Linked DNA regions of Homo sapiens: region 1 is linked to region 2. Evidence: promoter capture Hi-C in human tissues and cell types (Jung and others, 2019). All regions are on one chromosome and are shown on one strand. Each heading gives the region's core, a stretch centred on a gene start or on the middle of the fragment in contact. The rest is flanking DNA. Distances are from core to core; before and after follow the strand shown.

Evidence for each region. Contacts are between HindIII fragments. The study calls those that stand out against the background at their distance.
Region 1: a contact is called between a fragment that was not itself captured here and the fragment with the promoter of TLX1 in region 2, in 3 of the 25 tissues and cell types used here (lymphoblastoid cells, mesendoderm cells and neural progenitor cells).

The regions. Positions count from the first base shown.
Region 1 is chr10:101,289,584-101,292,413 of GRCh38, reverse strand. No RefSeq gene overlaps it. Among named protein-coding and RNA genes, the nearest start is that of LINC02681, 27 kb to the right of the region's middle. RefSeq lists enhancers at 415-954, 955-1,494. The HindIII fragment of the contact is 6,298 bases long and covers 1-2,830 here.
Region 2 is chr10:101,129,967-101,132,829 of GRCh38, reverse strand. It overlaps TLX1 (T cell leukemia homeobox 1), which reads right to left and starts at 1,530. Exons shown (of 3, transcript NM_005521.4): 1 at 721-1,530. The coding sequence starts at 1,288. It overlaps TLX1NB (TLX1 neighbor), which reads left to right and starts at 1,684. Exons shown (of 3, transcript NR_130723.1): 1 at 1,684-2,044. The HindIII fragment of the contact is 11,337 bases long and covers 1-2,863 here.

The DNA of each region.
Region 1 (2,830 bases), core at 72-2,571, 160 kb before region 2:
AATGCTCCCGCTCCAGGGGGCGGGGACGAGGGGGAGGGAGGTGGCAGGCCGGGCGCCGGCCGCTGGGACCCTCGCTCGTGCCTGCGTTGGTGGGGGCACACCCCCCTCGCCGGTCGCTTTAATTACATTTGTTCTCGTCCTTCGTGAGGGCGAGACTTCGGCGCGGCCCGCGTGGGGGGCGGGAGGAGGCGCAGGCCAGGACTGCCTGGAGGGGGGCGCGGGGAATGGGAACGTGGGGAGCCCGGGAGGGGGTGCTGTCAGCTTTTGCTCAGAAGCGGATCAATAGTACGAGATCTAATGGGCTAACTGCCAAGCGGGTGCACCGAGGCGCTGCCCCGCGGGGGCGGGAGGCGGTGGGCGAAGGACGAGAGAAAGGAATGGGGGTGGGAGAGGGAGTGAGGACGGGGAGGGGGGAAGGGCAGGAAGAGTGGAAGAGGTGGGGGGAGGAGGAAGAGAGAAAATAAAGAAGGGGAGAGAAGGCGAGCGGGAGCGGGAGGGCAGGGACAGGACAGGACAGTCTTCGTAGGGGCGTTTCTTCACAAGGGGGATCCTTTCCTGGAGCTGCCAGACGCCGCAGTCGCCAGCCGCCGGGCCTCAACTCTGTCATTGAGCCGCCAGGGGGCGGCGCGACCCTGTGCTCTCCCCGCGGATCTCAGGGTCTCCTCGCTGGGGCGCGAGTGACCGGTCGCCGCCGATGATTGGTCCCTGCCCGGCGCCCTCTGCCCTCTCCCGGAGGCCTCCCGCGTGGCAGGGTGGGCGTACGGCGACTCCCCCCAACTCCTGCCCCAAAGGAAGGAACCTTCTGGCTTTCCTGGTGTTGGCCCTGGCGCCCTGGGACCCTAGAGCCCCGGGGAAGCGCCCAAAGGCTAGGTCACCGGCCCAGGGCTGGCCACTGTCCCCGGAAGACCCCCAAGGCCGCGGCCGACGCGGCATGGAGGCGCTGGGAGATCTGGGCCTTCGCAGCCCGGCTAGGGAGCGTGGACGAGTCTCCGGGACATCCTGCGCGAAGGGTCCTTCTGTGCGTGCTGCGCGGGCGCTAACGAGGCCAGCCAGAGTCACCAGGGATGAAGGCTATAGGGCCCGGTTTTAACTCATTCGGTTCCTGGCCATTGACTGTCCTTTTTTCAGTTCTGGGGCCTCATCCCTTCCCAAACTGAGAAAATAAAATACAGCCCAACACCCTCAATGGCAAGTTTAGCCACCCTGGAGAGGGGAGCCTGGTGGTGACGGCTCAGTGTTCTCGACCTGGCAGGATAGCAGAATTACTTGAGGGAGATTTTTAACATAAGCGTGTTTACCCGCACGCATGCATTGTAAGAAGCTTGTATGTAGAGGCAGGGCTTCCTGGAAGCATGCCCGGTGTCAGAGCTCCCCCAGATAACGCTGATACAGAGTCCCACATGAGCATTACCTGAAGAAACTGCCTGGAGGTGCGGCACTGGGAATGGGAACATGGGGAGACCAGGAGTGGGGCACTGTCAGCTTTGGCTCCAAGCAGATCAATAATAGTACAAGATATAATGGGCTACCTGCCAAGTGGGTACACTGAAAAATGTCACATATTTTTTCATGTTGGATGTGGTAGCTCGGCCTGGGCTATTTGCCCTCATGGATGTGTCTGTGTGTCGCTGCATGTGTATGTTGCTGGGTACCTGCACCACTGGGTAAGCATTGCTTTATGCATCTTTTTATGTATCCTCTGTGTGCGGATGTCACTGGGTATGCATCATCCCGTGTATCACTGGTGTTATCATCAGCGTTTACTGAGAGCACCTATTGTGTGTGTGTTGTCGTACATGCCTGTCCTGATGAGAGTGAGTGCGGATCCTGGGGTGTGTTTGTGTTGTATCGAGCACATCTCTGTGGGCTCCATTGTGGGGCACAGCCATTGTCTCCATGTCATTGAGAGTGTGTGCTGGCAAGAGCTCGTGACACAAATGGAACGAAGCTGATCTGCCCTAGAAGCAAAGGAGGCAATGACCTTCTTTTTCCAATTATATCCTGGTCAGAGGTGAGCGACCTCTCTCCACCGAGGCCACTTCTTGTCATGCAAACTGAGCAGAAGGATGGAGATTAGAGGAATGTGACCGAGTCACGTGTGAAAACAATCAGCTATCAATGGGCCCCGATCAATGCCCCAGATTATAGATGAGCCCAGGGCAAGCAGTCACTTTGGAGTTTTTCCTGAGGAGGCAAAAATACACAGCACACAGCCATACACGTCACACGTCCCGAGAGACCCACAGCCTGGGGACAGGTAGGAAGTGGGTTGGGGAGAGCTGGGCAAGTGAATGGCCACCCACTTTGAAGTGGTCGGCAACTATTATTATTAGTAGGTGGTTATGTTGTTTTTGTTAAAGATGCAACCTTTATTCCGCTGGTAGCGGGAAGTGTAAAAGCTTGTGTTTGGTGTTTTCTATTTTAAGTCCAGAGAGTTAGGTCTCTTAAGTGGGTCACAGGAGACAGTGTGGGGATTTGGAGGAAACTTATATCAGGAACGGGAGCAATAGAGGGCTTGTATTGAGAGAGTGGCAAAGGAAAGTCTTTGGTCAGCTGTGGGCAGGGGGCAGGTGTGAAGCAGAGTGGCTCCTGGGGCCAGGGCACATGTCCTTAGGACAACTTGAAACCAGGCTGTGGGGTGAGAGGGCTGAGCTTCTGAAAGGCAGGGCCAGCCCTAACCACAAATATGCTCCACGATAGCAGGAGAGTGCCGGGCTTGGGGAGTAGTGGCCTCTGAAGGGCATGACCATGAGGGCCCTCATGAAGTGTGACTAGTCTTTGGAGACAGGTGGTGCAGGCCCTTGAGGGGCTATAAGGATGAGCTGAGGGG
Region 2 (2,863 bases), core at 281-2,780:
CCACCGATCACCAGCCTACCGGTGCATTGTTCGTGCCCAAGATAACAGGGCTGGGCCCGGGGTAGGACACCCAGCCGGGAGAGAACGAAAATGAAAAGCTAGCTGTCCTGGGCGGCTAAGCCCCGCTGCCATCCTCCCAGATGAAGCCTGCTCTCCGGAAAAAAAAAAAAAGGCCACTGGTTCTGCTGATTTACCGGGGCTCAGAGCCCCCACTGGCCCCGCAGCACCACGGGCACCGGAGCTAGGGGCGCGAAGTGCATGTGTGTAGGGGACTGGAGGTGGGGGAACCTGTTCTTTTCTTGTGTCTGATCCTGGGGCTCGCTTCCTGGGTCCTAGAACAGCAGCCAGGACGGAAGAAACTGTTCACGTTGCACCCCTTTCTCTAAGATTCCCAGGCCAAGAGTAGCTGCAGAAGGTGGTCCTGAATCTATGGCCTCCTTCTCTCTGCCTGACCCGGCTAGTGGATCCGGAGAGGGGACCAGGGAGAGCTCCTCCGAGCAGGGGTCCTTCGGGAGACAGAGAGGGGTCCAGGCTGAGAGAACTCTTCAAGCATGGCGAGTCTGCGTTATAGAATCGGGCGGGCGGCTCAACTTGGGGGAAGCACCAAGAAGAGCTGGGCGACCTGGAGCGCAGAACCGGCTTTGGGGAGCCACCCGGCGGGGCAGGGGTAGCACGGAGCCCGGGCCGCGGCCAGGCGGGGAGCGCGCGGGCCGGACTCACCTGTGAACCTGTCCTTTGTGTATCTGCGGTTACTCTCCATCCAGGGGAAGGTGAGGCCAGTGAGGTTGTTGACGCCCGGCATGGCAGGCACAGAGGGCACGGTGGGCAAGCCGGTGGCCAGGGGCTGGGGGTGGGCCACGGCTCCGGCGAGCGGCCTGTGTGCCGGCACCCGGATTACCCCCGCAGCGCTGAGTGCCCCGGCACCGCCGCTGCTGCCGCCGCCGCCGCCAGGACCGGGGCCGCCTGCCAAGGCCATGTTCACGTTGTAGGAGCCGGTCAGAGGACCCATGCTGCAGGCGCCGCCGCCGCCTGCCGGGCCTCCGGGGCCGCCGGGACCTCCAGTACCATAGGCCCCCGCTCCTCCAGCCCCCGTCGCGGCCGCGGAGCCCCCGCCGCCGTAAGTGTAGGCGCCTCCGACCAAGCAGCCAAGGCCGTATTCTCCGTCCTGGAGGCGCGAGGCGGGTCCCATGCAGCCACCCTGGTCCGGGCTGTTGAGGATCTGGTCGATGCCGAAGCTAATGGGCTCTGCGTGACCCGGGTGGAGGTGGTGCGGACCCAGGTGCTCCATGCTGGCCCTGGCCCCACCGGGGGGCCCGGGCGGCGGCGCTCGCTGCGCTCGGCTCGGGGGGCAGCTAGCAGGGGCTGGGAGGCAACAGCGGCTCCTGGCTGCGCGGAGACTTGGAAGCGAAGTGCGCAGAAAGGCTAAAGTAGAAGGGGGAGGGGAGGGAGAGAGGGGGCGCCGTATTCTTCCCCTCTCTGGCTTCTGCTTCCCCGCTCCGGCTGCTCGCTCGCTGTTGACTCTGGGACATCAATCACCAGGCGAAAAAGCCCGGTGCAAGAGAGCTTCGCGGTTTCGACTGGGTCTCTCCATTGGCTGTGCGCGGAGAGGAGCGGGGTGAATGACAGCGCGAGGGAGGGGAGGGGAGGGGGAGAGGAAGGCCAGAAGCCGAGACAGATGCAGGAGCCAGAGATAGAGGGACGGAGACCAAGACTCGGAGTAGTTCATGAAGAGAGAGAAGAGGGGAACAAGGCGAGGCTTAAAAGGAAAAGGGAAAACAGGAAGCGACCATTCCCAGAGACGGACAGACAGACAAACCCAAGGAGGGTGAAGTCAACTGTCTTCCCGGCCTGTTGGGAGCCCTCCCCTCACTTTGAACTGGGCCAAAGGAGTCCAGCCCACAAGGCGTCTGAGGAAGGGATGTCTCTGCCCAACTGGAGAATCTCCTCAAGGGCTCAGCTGCGAAACACCTGTCACTCAACCAGGAGATTTACTCCAAATTTCAAGTCCAGCTTTTTAGAAAGTAGAAGACTGTCTACTCCCCAGGTATGGAGCCCAGGCCCTGAGGCAGGACGGTGAGTTCAGGCTTGCCCTTCTTTAAAACACAGGCCTATGAACAACTGGCTATATGTTATAAAAATCAGCAACCACCCCCCAACTCAGCCTTCTTAGACAAATTCAGGAAGGGAACATATCCTGAAAGGCAGGCACAAGTCAAGAGGGTTGGTTTGGGGTCTGCTGCCAGGGTGCCCATGCCTCAACATACCCCTTTGGTTTTAAATAAACAGATGCGTCAAGAAGTAAAATCCTACAGGGTTCGAAAGAGGCAATTCCTACAGTGTTTGAATGAATTCAACCAGATTGCATTCCACCTAACAATTACCCCAGGGTTGGCTATTCCAGACAAGAAGCCTTTGGACTGTGGTGTGTGTTCTTTTCTTACGTTTGGAATCTTGGGAGGGAGCCATAGGGGCTTAAGGCCGTGGGGGCTGGGATTGGTGGGACTAGGATCAGGGAAGTGCATCCAGGACAAATTTAGGCCTTTCCAACGTTTTGCCAGTGGCTGTCTGGCTGAGAGCCCAAGAGAAAAGGAGGAAACTCCCTTTTTCTTCTTCCTGTCTTTCCCCTCTCCAGTAGAAAATGTTTGCTACCTTTTAGAAGCCAAGCTTTGGGAAAGGCACAGGTTCCATCACTTGGGATCTATTTCTGTTCTATTTCAGTTCAGTTTCAGATTAGACTTTTGGGTAGGCCCTGTCTCTATCTGGAAAGATGCTAGGATGTGAAGACTCACATTCTCTCCCATCAAGTCTTATTGCAATCTATTTGCTTTGGGCATGTCTGTCACCTCCACTTGAAGAGATCTTC